Linked DNA regions of Homo sapiens: region 2 is linked to region 1. Evidence: promoter capture Hi-C in 16 types of primary human blood cells and fetal thymus (Javierre and others, 2016). All regions are on one chromosome and are shown on one strand. The core of a region is centred on a gene start or on the middle of the fragment in contact, and the rest is flanking DNA. Distances in the headings are between cores, read along the strand shown.

Region 1 (6,504 bases), core at 2,559-5,058:
TACAACATATGTAGAAGTACAACATCCCCAGCACAGATGCTGGGGGAGGATGGAAGCAAATGGTTGTCAGTTTCTTATACTCTGTATAAAGTAGTGTATTATCACTTGGAGGTGGACTGTGATGAAGACCTATACTATCAACCCCAAAACCACCACTAAACCTCACAAGAAGTTATTCTTCCTAAGTGACAAATGAGATAAAACAATCACAAAAATGCCTCTGTCCACTGAAAAGGCCTAGAAATAGCGGTCCCCTGGAGCAGCAAGCACAAGCGTACATATATATTAAAAATTGTCAAAATGTACACTTTAAATATGTGCAGGCCAGGTGCGGTGGCTCACGCCTGTAATCCCAGCACTTTGGGAGGCTGCCCAGCACTTTGGGAGGCTGAGGCAGGCGGATTACCTGAGGTCAGGAGTTTGAGACCAGCACAGCCAACAAGGCGAAACCCCGTCTCTACTAAAAATACAAAAATTAGCCAGGTGTGGTGGCGCGTGGCTGTAATCCCAGCTACTCAGAAGTCTGAGGCAGGAGAATCACTTGAACCCGGGAGGCAGAGGTCATAGTGAGCTGAGATCACGCCACTGCATTCCAGCCTGTGCAACAAAGCAAGACTACATCTCAAAAAATAAAATAAAATAAATACATACGTATGTGCAGTTATGCCTATACTTCAATAAAATTGTTTCAAATAAAAGCACGATGAGCTGCCTGGACAGGTGAAAATTCCAGTGGTAGTCATAATGTCTTTCCATAGACTTTCTCTTCTCCTTTCTTTCAGGGACATAACAATATTGCATTTCCTGTCCTCTTTGAAATTAAGTGTTGCCACATGACTTGCTTTGGCCCATGAAATGTAAATAGAAGTTCTTATAGCAATTCCTGGTAAGTGCTTCTCTAACTAATGCACAATCAGTCCTAATGCATAGCCACTCCTACCTGAGTGATTGTGGAGATGCATTTAGATAAAACACACTCGGTCAGCCTGGGTCTAGGAGGGCCCATGAGCAAGTCTCTGCTCGTGGGAGTGGACAGGTAGTCTGAGCGAGGAACTTTGCTGCGTAAGTCATAAATGGGTTGAGAGATCTGCATTACTGCAGTTAATCTAGCCCATTCTGACTGAATATTCCCTAGCAACAGAGGTATCTGATCATGGACATAGTTTTGACAGTGGAAGGTAAAGTGGCCCAGTGACCTCTGAGGTGTCTACTTTCTTGAAGATGTGAGTTATATGTCATAGTCTCCACCAGCCTGGGTGTGGAATTGAGCTTCCATTTTCAAGTCTCCACTTGTATGTCTGGAATTTGGCTCCTTCTCAAGGTAACACCCAGGGATTGCTGAGTTCCCAAGTGCTCAGACACAAGTCCACTCATTTTCTTCAATTCCAGTTACCAAAGAAAGTCACCATTCCACCGAGGCTGTGACCAGTGCCCTCCACCAGGCCTAGCTCCAAGAATCTCATGCATCAAGCCCCAGGGCTCCTCACGTTGGGCATTAAATGTAAGGTCATGCCACATTCTTTAACATTGTCAGGAAGCAGGAAGGAAAGTACCAGATACTTGAAGGACCCACTGACCTGGAAAAAAGTGGGATCTAGTTTCAGCTTGAAAAAATCCTTCTTCATAATTACATTTCCCTTAGGCAAATCTCTAACATGCCTAGGCTTTTGTATATCTGTTTTTACTGCGTCACAAACCTCCCCCAAAGAGAAGGGAGACGATAACTGGAGAAAACCACAAATTAATCTTCCAATATTTTTTTCTTCCATATAATCAGCAGTGCCTCAGAATCAAAGCAGTCTCTAAAAATATTTTGAAGAAATTTATTTTCTTGGATCTTCAAAGATCCAAAGTTACTGAGATGCAAAGAATCTTCCACAGTATCATCCAAGGATACTGAAGGGCTCCTTCAAACCTCGCCCTTGTATATTTCTTCTTCCAGTTGTGATACTGCAGTTACATTTGCAAACCAAATGATCCCTTTGGGTGGTTTTTCCAAAACAAATCGTCTTTCCCAAAGGCCTACCTAAGTCTTCATTTTCCACAAAGTAGAAAACTGCCCACAGCTTTGAAATGGCAGCATAATTTGTATTTCTACCACCTTGTCCAGGTTTCAGGGATCTCTGGTCCAGTTTCAGTCAATAATGCTAACTATCACTGCAGCTCACTGACTTCTTTCTTGTACATAGCAGTTTTTCGCAGGAAGAAAACAAATCTAACGAATAGGAATAACTTCAGGTGATGCTGTTTTCTTCCCGCTTCCTGGGATCACTGTCTTTCCTCTGAAATGGTTTTAATCAGAACCAATCTGTTATACTCAGGAGCCTAAATCAAACACGACATGCAGAGAGACAAACAAGAAAGCAACAAATGATCTGAGCCACTGAACAAGAAATATATATAAAACAGTTTTAGGAATTACAGCTGTCACAACTTTTCACCATGGGGCCTTCTCTGTGATTTAGAAAAAACTGCATTTATTTGTTATTAGGATCGGAGACAAGAGAAAAATACCGACCCAAATAGCCACTGGGGAAGAGGGAAGCTCTGATGCCAATTTATGTGGAGGATGGAGCCAAACTGACTCACACACACACACACAAAAGTATGTACTGGCATTTTCCACACAGTCCAGGTCACTTGGGAGCTTAGCCAAGGATATTTTGAGCATTCGACTACCTATTGTGAACAAGGTTGGGAACTATGAGGCGCTATGTGGCCCTGATCAAGCTCAGATGGGCCAAATCCTCAACCAAAATTCTCTTTCCCATAAATGTTTATCTCTACATTTCCCACAGAAGGGGATTCTAACTCAGTTTTGCTTCTGAAACCAAACTATCCAAGGCCAGGTGAGATGACTCATGCCTGTAATCCCAGCAATTTGGGAGGCCAAGGAGGGAGGATGCTTGAACTCAGGAGTTCAAGACCAGCCTGGGCAACATAACAAGACCCCATCTCTACAAAAAATTTAAAAATTGGCGCGGTGTGGTCGTGTGAGCCCCTAGCCCCAGCTACTCAGGAGGCTGAGGCAGGAGAATCGGTTGGGCTGGGCTGACAGTGCCAGACCCTGTTAAAAAATAAAAATTAAAAAAACTCCTAAATTTGGAAACACATCCCCAGCTGAGGGCCGGGAGATACTTCTCAACCGTAATCCAGAACCCTCTAAAATGGGATGTGGAGAGGCTGCAGCCTGTAGTCTTGCGATGACCTTTTAGCACCTGGGCATCTTGCGCTTCTGTCATTCCGCCCACACCCGCTCAGCTCCATCCAAGAGGGCCCGGCAGTTTGGAGTGAAAGCTTAGCTTCCCAACGGGTAAATGAACCTGCCTCCCATTCACAGGGCGGCCTCTGGCTGGACACCTGGGGCCTACTGCCTCCTTGTTACACATTAACCAAGTTCTGGCCTCCATCGTAACAGCGTCAGGGAAGTTTTTTCCTGGCTGACAGCCGCAGATGATGACCGAAGACAACGTCTTAACTGAGACGGGCCAATTTGGCAAATGGACTGCTTTCCTCCCCAGTGCGGGCACCTTCCTCCTCTGTCCGGCAACTGGACCCCACTGTCCCCAGCCCTCTGTCACCCCCAAACCTGCCCACCGCCCGCCTCTACCCGACCCTCCCTCAGGGAAATCGGGACTCAGCCCCCAACGCCCCCACCTGCCGCTCTGCCCACCTCAGCGCACACCGCCAGAGCGCCCAGCCCGCGCACGTGCTTCCGGCGCGCGCCGAAGTCCTCACGCGCCCCGCCCCGGCCTCCCCGTGCGCACGCGCGAACGCGGGGTGGGCCGGGCCTCGCGTAGCCCATCTCCTCTTCCTCCTCGCGGTCGCGGCCGGACGGAGGGTGGAGGGCCCTGCGCCTGCGCGGAGCTGGAGTCCGGCTGGGCCGCAGCCGCTGGGAGACCGGCGGTTGCCGTGGGGACCGGTCGGGCCCCTCCCTCCTCCGGTCCCCCGCCCCAGGTCCTTCCCCACCGAGACGCGCCGGCGGACCGCGGGCGAGTGCAGCCGGTGACCCGGCGAGAGGCGGCGCCGCTCCCAAGATGTCGCAGACGGCCATGTCCGAAACCTACGGTACGAGGCCCGGGCTGGCGGGGCGCGCGGGTCGGGCCGCGGGGGGCGTCGGTGGCGCGGGGCCGGGCCTGGGCTGCGGGGGTCTTGAGGGTGGCGGTGGCGCCGGCCGGAGCCGGGGGACGGATCTCGGAGGTGTCTGGGCTTGGGACCGGGATGGGGGACGCGGGCCGCTGGGGGCTCGGGTGGGGTAGCGGGTGCGCGGGGCGCGGGGGCGCTGTGCACAGCGCATTGGCGTGATCCGCCTTTTCAAGTTTCCTCTTGCTCTTTCTCTGCTCTTGCACTCTTAGCGCTTTTCCCCTCTCAGTCTAATGTAAATAACTGAAGGTTTGAAAAGCCAGCTTGATGTTCGGTTTCAGCTGCGATATTATCCCCAGCGAGCCTGTGAAGGGCTTAGGGCGACGCCTGTGTTCCTCAAATACTTCAGTTTGACCTTTCCTGGTTTGGAATTCCTTGCTTTACATTGGGATTACAGTGAGGAGTTATTAATAGGCTAATTCATTCATCTCTTCCTCCGGAGACCTCTTGCTTCGTTTATTTCTCCCTCCCTCTCAGTGTTTTTTAGCCTTTTCTGGGTTGCATTTTGGCTATTTATAAACATGTCTTGTCTCCTTCTTAAGACCGTAAGCACCTTGGAAGCAAAGCCCTGGCTGTTTAATCTTTGTTTCCCCTGCAGCACCCAGACCTGGAGGTGCTTGACAAATACTGTTTTGAATAAGCGAAAGCTTTCCCAGTGCATATGCTGTGTGCTTTTTTTTTTTTCTCCCCTTTTTTGGCCTTGCGTGGTAAGAATAAACAACTTGTACTTTGTATCAGAGTTGAATATTAATAGATGTTTACCAGTCCCTAATCACTCTTTCAGATGTATGTATTCTCAGATTAAGACTTTGATTTGGAGTTTTACAGTCCCAGAGAGAGGCTCAAGTTCAAAATTACATACCTCAAGCCAAATTAGTCCTGTCTCCATCTGTCCTGGCATGCTGCTTCCTTCTCTGCAACAAATACTGTGGAATGGCATTAGGGAAGCGAGCACCGTGCTGGGAGGGCTGTACATCCTGCAGAAACACAGCAGACACGGCTCTGGTCTCATGGAGCGTAGTCTATTGAGGGAATGCAGTATTAATCCAATTGTGATACTAATGAGTGAATAATTAAAAACCAGGCAAGAGTTCTGAAGGAGTGTGGTCCGTGAAAGTGTGTTAGAAAGAAAGATGACCCAGACAGGGGTGTCAGGGAGGCATTAACCAGGCAGCACGCAGAACATCTCAGGCCTGTGGGAAGGGTAACTCAAGAAGGGTGTGTTTTGAGTACCACGCTGGAGAGGTGGATGAGGAGGCAGAGAGGAGAGGGTCTTGAGGAAGGCGTCAGTTTGTCTTGTAAGAAAAAATGGGAACTTTTGGAAGGGCTTCCATGCTGGGGTCACAGTGCATTTGGTCCACCTTCAGTGAGTGACTCCTGTGACTGGTACTGCCCTGTTCTTGGTGACAAAGGGGCATGACATCTGTTCCTAGAAGGCGTAGGAAATCCTCCAGTAAGTCGATGCCTTCATCAGGACAAGTGTTTGCAAATGTTTCTGCAAATGGCAGTGGTCTGGTTCTTCCTGTAGAGAACCACAGTCAGAAATGTTGTAAGGAAAACATGGTCTTTAGCAATTTTTGGTTACATCTTTGCACTTCTTTATTTTCAAGTGCTCTTTAGCCCAGGCTTAGTTTCTTTAACCTGAGTAAGGAGCACGGAGCACTAGGGGAAGGGTGGAATGTCCAAATAAGAAAAGCAAGTGGGGGTCATGAATCAGTAAGAAAGGATTGGAAGAGTTCAGGAGATAGAGCTTTTATGTTTCATTTTTCGTATACGCATGATAACAACTGATAAAATAGAGCTTATCTTTGGCATCTCCACTTCAGACACAGTTAACTGAACTTTTGAGCTTCACAGATTGATTACATTCTGATCATAAGGCTTTGACCATTAGTATTCTTATTTCATGGTAACTTCCAAGTATGTTTTTACTTTGCAACTCTGAATTGAATCTTTTCTTCTAATAGAGGAAATTAATCGAAAACTAGTAGAAACTAATAAATAGAAAATGAGGCCAGAGGTGATGGCTCACGCCTGTAATCCCAGCACTTTGGAAGGCCGAGTTGGGCGGATCACTTGAGCTCAGGAGTTCAATACCAGCCTGGCCAACATGGCGAAACCCCAGCCCTATTAAAAATACAAAAAATTACCTGGGCATGGTGGTACGCTTGTAGTCCCGGCTACTTGGGAGGCTGAGGCATGAGAATTGCTTGAACCCAGGAGGTGAAGTTTACAGTGAGCCAAGATTGTGCCACTGCACTCCATCCTGGGCAACAGAGTGAGACTCTGTCTCAAAAAAAGAAAATGAGTTTTAGAAGGAGCAAGCAGGACAGTTGAAGTTTGCCAAGCTGAAGTAAAAGT
Region 2 (6,504 bases), core at 1,227-3,726, 260 kb after region 1:
CTTTAATTTTTGAGGGTCTCAGGTTGCAAAGCACATTTGTTGTTGTTGTTGTTGTTGTTGTTTTTCAGATGAAAAAAAGCTTGCTGTGGCTGAGTACTACTCAGAATTTTTGGAACACATATGGGGTAGAAAGTGAAAGAAAACACTGGGGAATTTTCCACATATAAGAGAGCAAGTGGTAAGGCTAATTTCAAAAACTCTAAAGATGAAAACCTAATTAGAAAATAATACTGCAATATAGAAACATGTGGGCTGGGCACGGTGGCTCACGCCTGTAATCCCAGCACTTTGCGAGGCCAAGGTGGGCGGATCACGAGGTCAGGAGATCAAGACTATCCTGGCTAACACGGTGAAACCCTGTCTCTACTAAAAAATTAGCTGGACGTGGTGGCAGGCACCTGTGGTCCCAGCTACTCGGGAGGCTGAGGCAGGAGAATGGCATGAACCCAGGAGGAGGAGCTTGCAGAGAGCCGAGATTGCGCCACTGCCACTGCACTCCAGCCTGGGTGACAGAGCAAGACTCAAGACTCCGTCTCAAAAACAAAACAAACAAACAAAAAAAACAAGAAACATGTGAAAAGTTCTTTGGATATAGAGACTTTGCTACAAAGCAGTAAAGAAATGCACCTGAGAGGAGAACACCCTTTTCTCCAACCACAGTGTTGAACCCTTGGGGGAAATTCCGGATGAAGGCCACTGCATTGGCCACTTCAGCCACTCTCTGGATTTCCTCAGCGGTCACAGAGGAAGGGTCATCAGCACCATAAGCAATGTTCTCAGCAATAGAGCAAGAAAACAAAATGGGTTCCTACAAATTGGAAATAAAACATATCACGAATTTCAAACAGACTTAAAACATGTCTAATAAATTTAGACCTAGCAGTCTTTTTTAAAATTTATGTTTTGCCATGAACAGGATTTTATCATCTGTAGTTCTCACCATGCTGCAAGCAATGAGACCTCACAGCAGGTGCCCGCAAGGCACCTGGCACATGGTAGGAACTTTGTAAATGTCAGTCCCCTGCCTTAGGAATCAGGAGGCACCAGGAGACCCCAAGTCCACCTGCATTTTCCAGCTGCCTGCCTTCCACTCAGGACAAAGCGGGGAATCCATCTCCATCCATTACTTTTTGAAATACACACAAACCACATGGGAACAAACAATTCTGACAGAACCCTATGGAGTAGTCCTAAAAAATAAGCAAACTTCCAGGCTCTTTTCTCCATCCCTAATCATATACACCACTGATGTCCCTACACTCCTGAGCACCCATCACCATCCACCTGCCCTCACCCAAGTGGAGTGGGGAGAGGATGAGCTAATCACAAAGAGAGGTTCAGAAATGGGGGGAGGCTCAGGTTTGTATGCTGTGTGCACAGCCTGGTAATAAAAATTAAAACAGCTGCAGCAACATTTCCCTGCCCCAAAGGGTCTTGTGAAAATGGCCTTATCAAAGTGACCACATTACATTAACACTCTGCTTTGAAATCTGCAACTTCTTTGCAAGGAGGACTCTGGCTCTTGCCATAGTCTTTGCTCACTTTTCCCTGAAACTCATTATGCAGAATAGTAGACTGTGGCTGGTGATGAAAATGGGAAGTGGGGAAGAATCAGTAAAAGCTAAAAAAGAGTCAATAAAATCTTCTATCATTTCCTCCCCATCCTCTAGACTATCTAGTAATGGTAGTCTCCAGCTTTCAATAAAAAGTCAATGCTTCACCCTTGCTCAAACATTTAGGGTTTTCAGGAAACAGCGCTACTTGCAAACCTAAACAACCTGCCATGTGAGATGAGCTTAATACATCCCAAAGACTTCCATTCCTTCTCTCTTGAGAAGTTCGAGACAAAAAAAAAAAAAAGCAAAAGACAAAAGTAATTTTAAAAGAAAGTGAAATAGAAATGGAAGCCTCTCTTCTTACCTGACTCACTGTCCCAATTTTGGATCTCAGCCACACTGGGTTTAGCTGACGGATGTCATGGCCATCAAGACTAATAGTTCCTTGTTGAGAGGAAAGGAAAGGAAAGAGTCACTGAGTGTGATGAGGCTGATGACCAACACAGAAAGGATCCGGTGGGAAAATTCCAGACTCATTTTTTAAAGATCAAAATGTACTGAAAATCTCCAGATGGACTCTAAAACTAACATATTTCATGAAATTTCAGAGCTAAAAGGGACTTTCTGGATTGTCCAAGTTATTGTCTCCCGATAGTAGCTGGATGACTATCTCACCGAGTCCATCTGTCCAGCTTGCCTTCCTGTACTCCGGAGGTTGTAGGGAGTTTTCCCAAAACTCCCTAGTGACTTAGGATTCCACCGATAAGATGCACTTGTGCAAAGCTTTAATTCAGAAGGGAGGGGCAAGCCATGAGGCATCCACTTGCTGGCACGAATACTGGCAGAGGTGGCACAGCTCTGAAGCTGGCATTCATGACAGCAACTGCCTAAATTTGTAGCTTCCTGACCATGCCAGTGTCAGCAGCTACCTTGAAGGCCTGGTTCTGGGGTGGAGTTCTGCAAACTGTCCTGGAAGTACAATCTAGAATCTATTTTGTCATTCCTGCCAGTGATTTTTGAGCTCTTTTATTACTCCTTAAAATATCCCTTTCTGTAATAAGCTTAGTTGGTGAGGAATCTGTTGTCTGCAACTAAGAATCTGGTCGATACCATGGCAGAGCTTTTAAATAATCAGACGCTATCTTTATGACTTTTGCTAACAGAATTCTTCACATTGAGGGTGCTCAACAAAACTTGGTGATGATGACAACAGTGACAGCATAAGAAATGCCATTTCTTCTCAGTTAATGTTGTGGAATTATAGAAGCCAGCTGGAAATGTTCACAAACTGGCAAAAACTTGAGGTCTTTGACGAAAAAGCACAAAGCTCTTTATAGACTACACATGGCAGACATTTAACTGCAGTTTGCTTTGTCCTGGATTTATTCATTGTGATGAAGAAACTAGAGACTCAGTATTTTTACTTGAATTACAGCAACCTAAATAGGATTTTTTTTGGTCTTTTTTTTTTTTCCTTTTTATGGAGAACAAGGTCTCACTATATTGCCCAAGCAGGTCTCAAACTCCCGGGCTCAAGCTATCCTCCCACCTCTGCCTCCCTAAGAGCTGAGATTACAGGTGTGAACTACTGTGCCCAGCTAACTAGGATTTTTTTAAACTCCAAATTTTATAGCAAGTGAATGGTGAATCAAGAAAGTGATTCCAGAGACAAACAATGTAGTAAGCCCCATTTTAACACAGGTGGTGATTCCATGGGTCAGGATTTGCAAGTCACATATTTATCTGACATGTAACCAGCTCTCACATTGTTTTAACCAAAAAGCATAAGCACAAAGACACAAAACATTCATTTTTTAAATTACAGAATTTTTTTTTTTTAATAAATAGTGACAGGGTCTCACTATGTTACCCGGGCTGGTCTCCAACTTGTGGCCTCAAGTGATCCTCCCACCTCAGCCTCCCAAAGTGTTGCAATTACAGGTGTGGGGCTCCACATCTGGCCAAAATATTCTTTCTAAATTCATGATTTGATTTTTACTAAGAGTTGTTTGCTTGCTGACATTGTTGTCTACTACAGGGAAGATAGAAGTAAAATCATGTGCTCTTTGCTCTTAAAGATGTTATAATCCAGTTAAAAATAAAATAAAAACTAGAATGAGAAAAATCATCCATTAAGAAAATCCCGGCTGGGCGCGGTGGCTCACGCCTGTAATCCCAGCACTCTGGGGGACTGAGGAGGGTGGATCACGAGGTCAGGAGATCGAGACCATCCTGGCTAACACGGTGAAACCCCATCTCTACTAAAAATACAAAAAAAATTAGCCGGGCATGGTGGCAGGCGCCTGTGGTCCCAGCTACTCGGGAGGCTGAGGCAGGAGAATGGCGTGAACCCGGGAGGCGGAGCTTGCAGCAGTGAGCTGAGATCGTGCCACTGCACTCCAGCCTGGGCAACAGAGCAAGACTCCGTCTCAAAAAAAAAAAAAAAAAAAAAAAAAAAAAAAAAAGAAAATCCCTACTAGGTCAAAATAGTTTCAATGGAACAGTCACATAGAAGTTAATCACTGGCCAGGCACGGTGGCTCACACCTGTAATCCCAGCACTTTGGGAGGCCAAGGCGGGTGGATCACGAGGTCAGGAGATCGAGACCATCCTGGCTAACACGGTGAAACCCCAACTCTATTAAAAATACAAAAAATTAGCTGGGCGTGGTGGCAGGCACCTGTAGTCCCAGCTACTCGGGAGGCTGAGGCAGGAGAATGGCGGGAACCCAGGAGGCAGAGCTTGCAGTGAGCTGAGATCGCGCCACTGCACTCCAGCCTGGGCGACAGAGCAAGACTGTCTCAAAAAAAAAAAAAAAAAAAAAAAAAAGAAGTGAATCACTGATGGCCAAGTTAACTGTGTGCACAATAAGCATTCAATGGCTCACAGGCAGAGGCAGAGGTTCTCCAGGAGCTCCCTATCACTCCTGCGCCCAGCACGCGCACTGGCACACGGTGGTTCTCCAGGGTGCTGCTGGAGCACCCCAGGCACTCTGTCCTGGCTGCTGAGCACAGCCTCGTCCACCTGCTCCCAGTAGAGGGCATGTCCAGAGGAGATACCCGCATGGGAGATGAGGAGGTAGATCTGGGGAAGTCACTCTGGGCTTGAAGAGGTAGGACACATTACACACAAAAAGCTCTAAAGGCCTCTGTATGAGCTGTCATGCCCCTGCAAATGACACCTTCTGTTTGAGGGATTTCTTTCCACTGGCACTTAGAAAAGAAGGTACTCTACAAAATAAGGTATTTGCATGGTTTGAGCATCTCCTAGGGCGCAAAAGTGGGAGCAGAGCTCGGGAGAGTCCCTCGGTGCTACAGTGTGGTGAACTGCTTACCAGAAGCAGGGTCGTACAACCTCAGCAGGAGTGAAAGCACTGTTGATTTGCCAGAACCACTTGGGCCAACCAGTGCCGTGACAGATCCTGACGGAATGGAAAGGCTGAAATCCTGAAATATGGGCACCTCTGGGCGAGCTGGATAGGCAAAATGCACGTTCTTAAACTCCAAAGCACCCTGGAAGCTTTTCTCATTTAAGATGACCCCCTCTGAAACATAAAATGGAATATTAATTACTTACAGCAAAAAATTAAACTCAAAAGCTGAACTCGGTTCTCCTACTCATCTGGCTATGGATGGGTGACTCCACCACAGCTAATCCTGGTATATGAGCTCTTAAAGGGCAAGTCAGAAGCAAACCTAGGCTAAATGCTTACCACGTGCCAACTCTGCACCTACTATGTCCAAGGTACTATATACGTAGACGGTCTTACTTGATCCTTACAACCCTGAGAGGTAGAAATTATAATTCCAATTTTGCTGATGAGGACATTGAAGACCACAGACAACAACCTGCTTAAGCTAACAAGTAGTGGAGTTAAGATCCACCCTTGTTAGTCTGGTTTCAAATCCGATGGCCTTCTCTCTATGCCACTGCCTCTGTGTAGCTCCAGAGTTTATCTTACCTACCCGGAATAAATATTTTGGAAGAGTTATGATGAAACGGGGAGCGCTGCACAGCAGCCGCAGAACTGGAGGGGTCAGAGGTCTGTTCTGCCCTGGTGTTCACCTACTGTGCTTTGGGAGACACTACTGAAACTCTCTCAGCTGGACCTATTTCCTAGGCCTATCACATTGGAGAATATTGGGCTTTCATTTATGGACCTGGGGCTACCTGACAATGTCCTAGGAAGTCAATAAGCAGCTGGGAGTGGTTACTACTCATAGCCATTTCTCCTGATTCCTGGCTAGTTGGTTTAGGCCCTACAGCTCCAGGGAAGTCACTGATAAGGAAGGAGATGGCTCCAGCCAATGAGTACCAGCCTCCCCTACCCCACACCAAAATGCCAAGAAACTTAGATATTTTCTTATGTCTGATTCCTCCTCCCTTATTCCCACCCTAGCCCTCCACAGAGATGTCAGAATCACTAGGGAAGATCAATTTGGTAAACTAGCTGGGACACAGCCCTGGGCCACACTGACTTCCATCCTGCCCTTTGCGGTAACACCCAGATGGAGGGAGGGGAACAGAGGGCAGCACACTATGTGGCCAGCCCATGCATCCAGGGACACCCTGGCCCACAACAGTGCCCCAGCAGCTGTCCCACCCCCTCTCATAGAAAACCTGACCACCTCCTCACCCGGCCCGCCATGCAGCAGGAGCCACATCCTTACTGTGGCTCATCCCTCACTCCCTTGCAGACAGGGGAAGAGCTGGTCTCATTGTTCAAAGCCACATTTGTTAATCCTAGCAAAGAAACAATTTTCAGACCCACCGTTAAAAGGCAGCTTGGGCTCTCTCTCCAGGAGCTCCCAGAGGCGCCCCCCTGCACCCAGTCCTTTCATCAGCTCCGAGTAGAAAGAGCTCAGACCTGAGGATGAGAAGCAGAATCCACACACATGTCCATCACTGGCACTGGCACTGGCCACCACTCCTCTGAGAGGAGTGACAA

The links. The method cuts DNA at HindIII sites, captures the fragments that hold promoters and counts their contacts. A CHiCAGO score of 5 or more calls a contact.
Region 2: a contact is called between a fragment that was not itself captured here and the fragment with the promoter of RAB4A in region 1, in 3 of 17 cell types (total CD8 T cells, non-activated CD4 T cells and naive B cells). The highest score is 6.4, in total CD8 T cells.

Annotation. Positions count from the first base shown.
Region 1 is chr1:229,267,303-229,273,806 of GRCh38, forward strand. RAB4A (RAB4A, member RAS oncogene family) reads left to right here and starts at 3,809. Exons shown (of 8, transcript NM_004578.4): 1 at 3,809-4,068. The coding sequence starts at 4,038. It overlaps RAB4A-AS1 (RAB4A antisense RNA 1), which reads right to left and starts at 3,852. Exons shown (of 2, transcript NR_149313.1): 1 at 3,674-3,852. RefSeq lists silencers at 3,621-4,150, 4,191-4,350. The HindIII fragment of the contact is 1,493 bases long and covers 3,296-4,788 here.
Region 2 is chr1:229,525,309-229,531,812 of GRCh38, forward strand. It overlaps ABCB10 (ATP binding cassette subfamily B member 10), which reads right to left. Exons shown (of 13, transcript NM_012089.3): 7 at 6,328-6,423; 8 at 4,891-5,100; 9 at 1,921-2,000; 10 at 628-808. Among named protein-coding and RNA genes, the nearest start is that of NUP133-DT, 20 kb to the left of the region's middle. The HindIII fragment of the contact is 278 bases long and covers 2,338-2,615 here.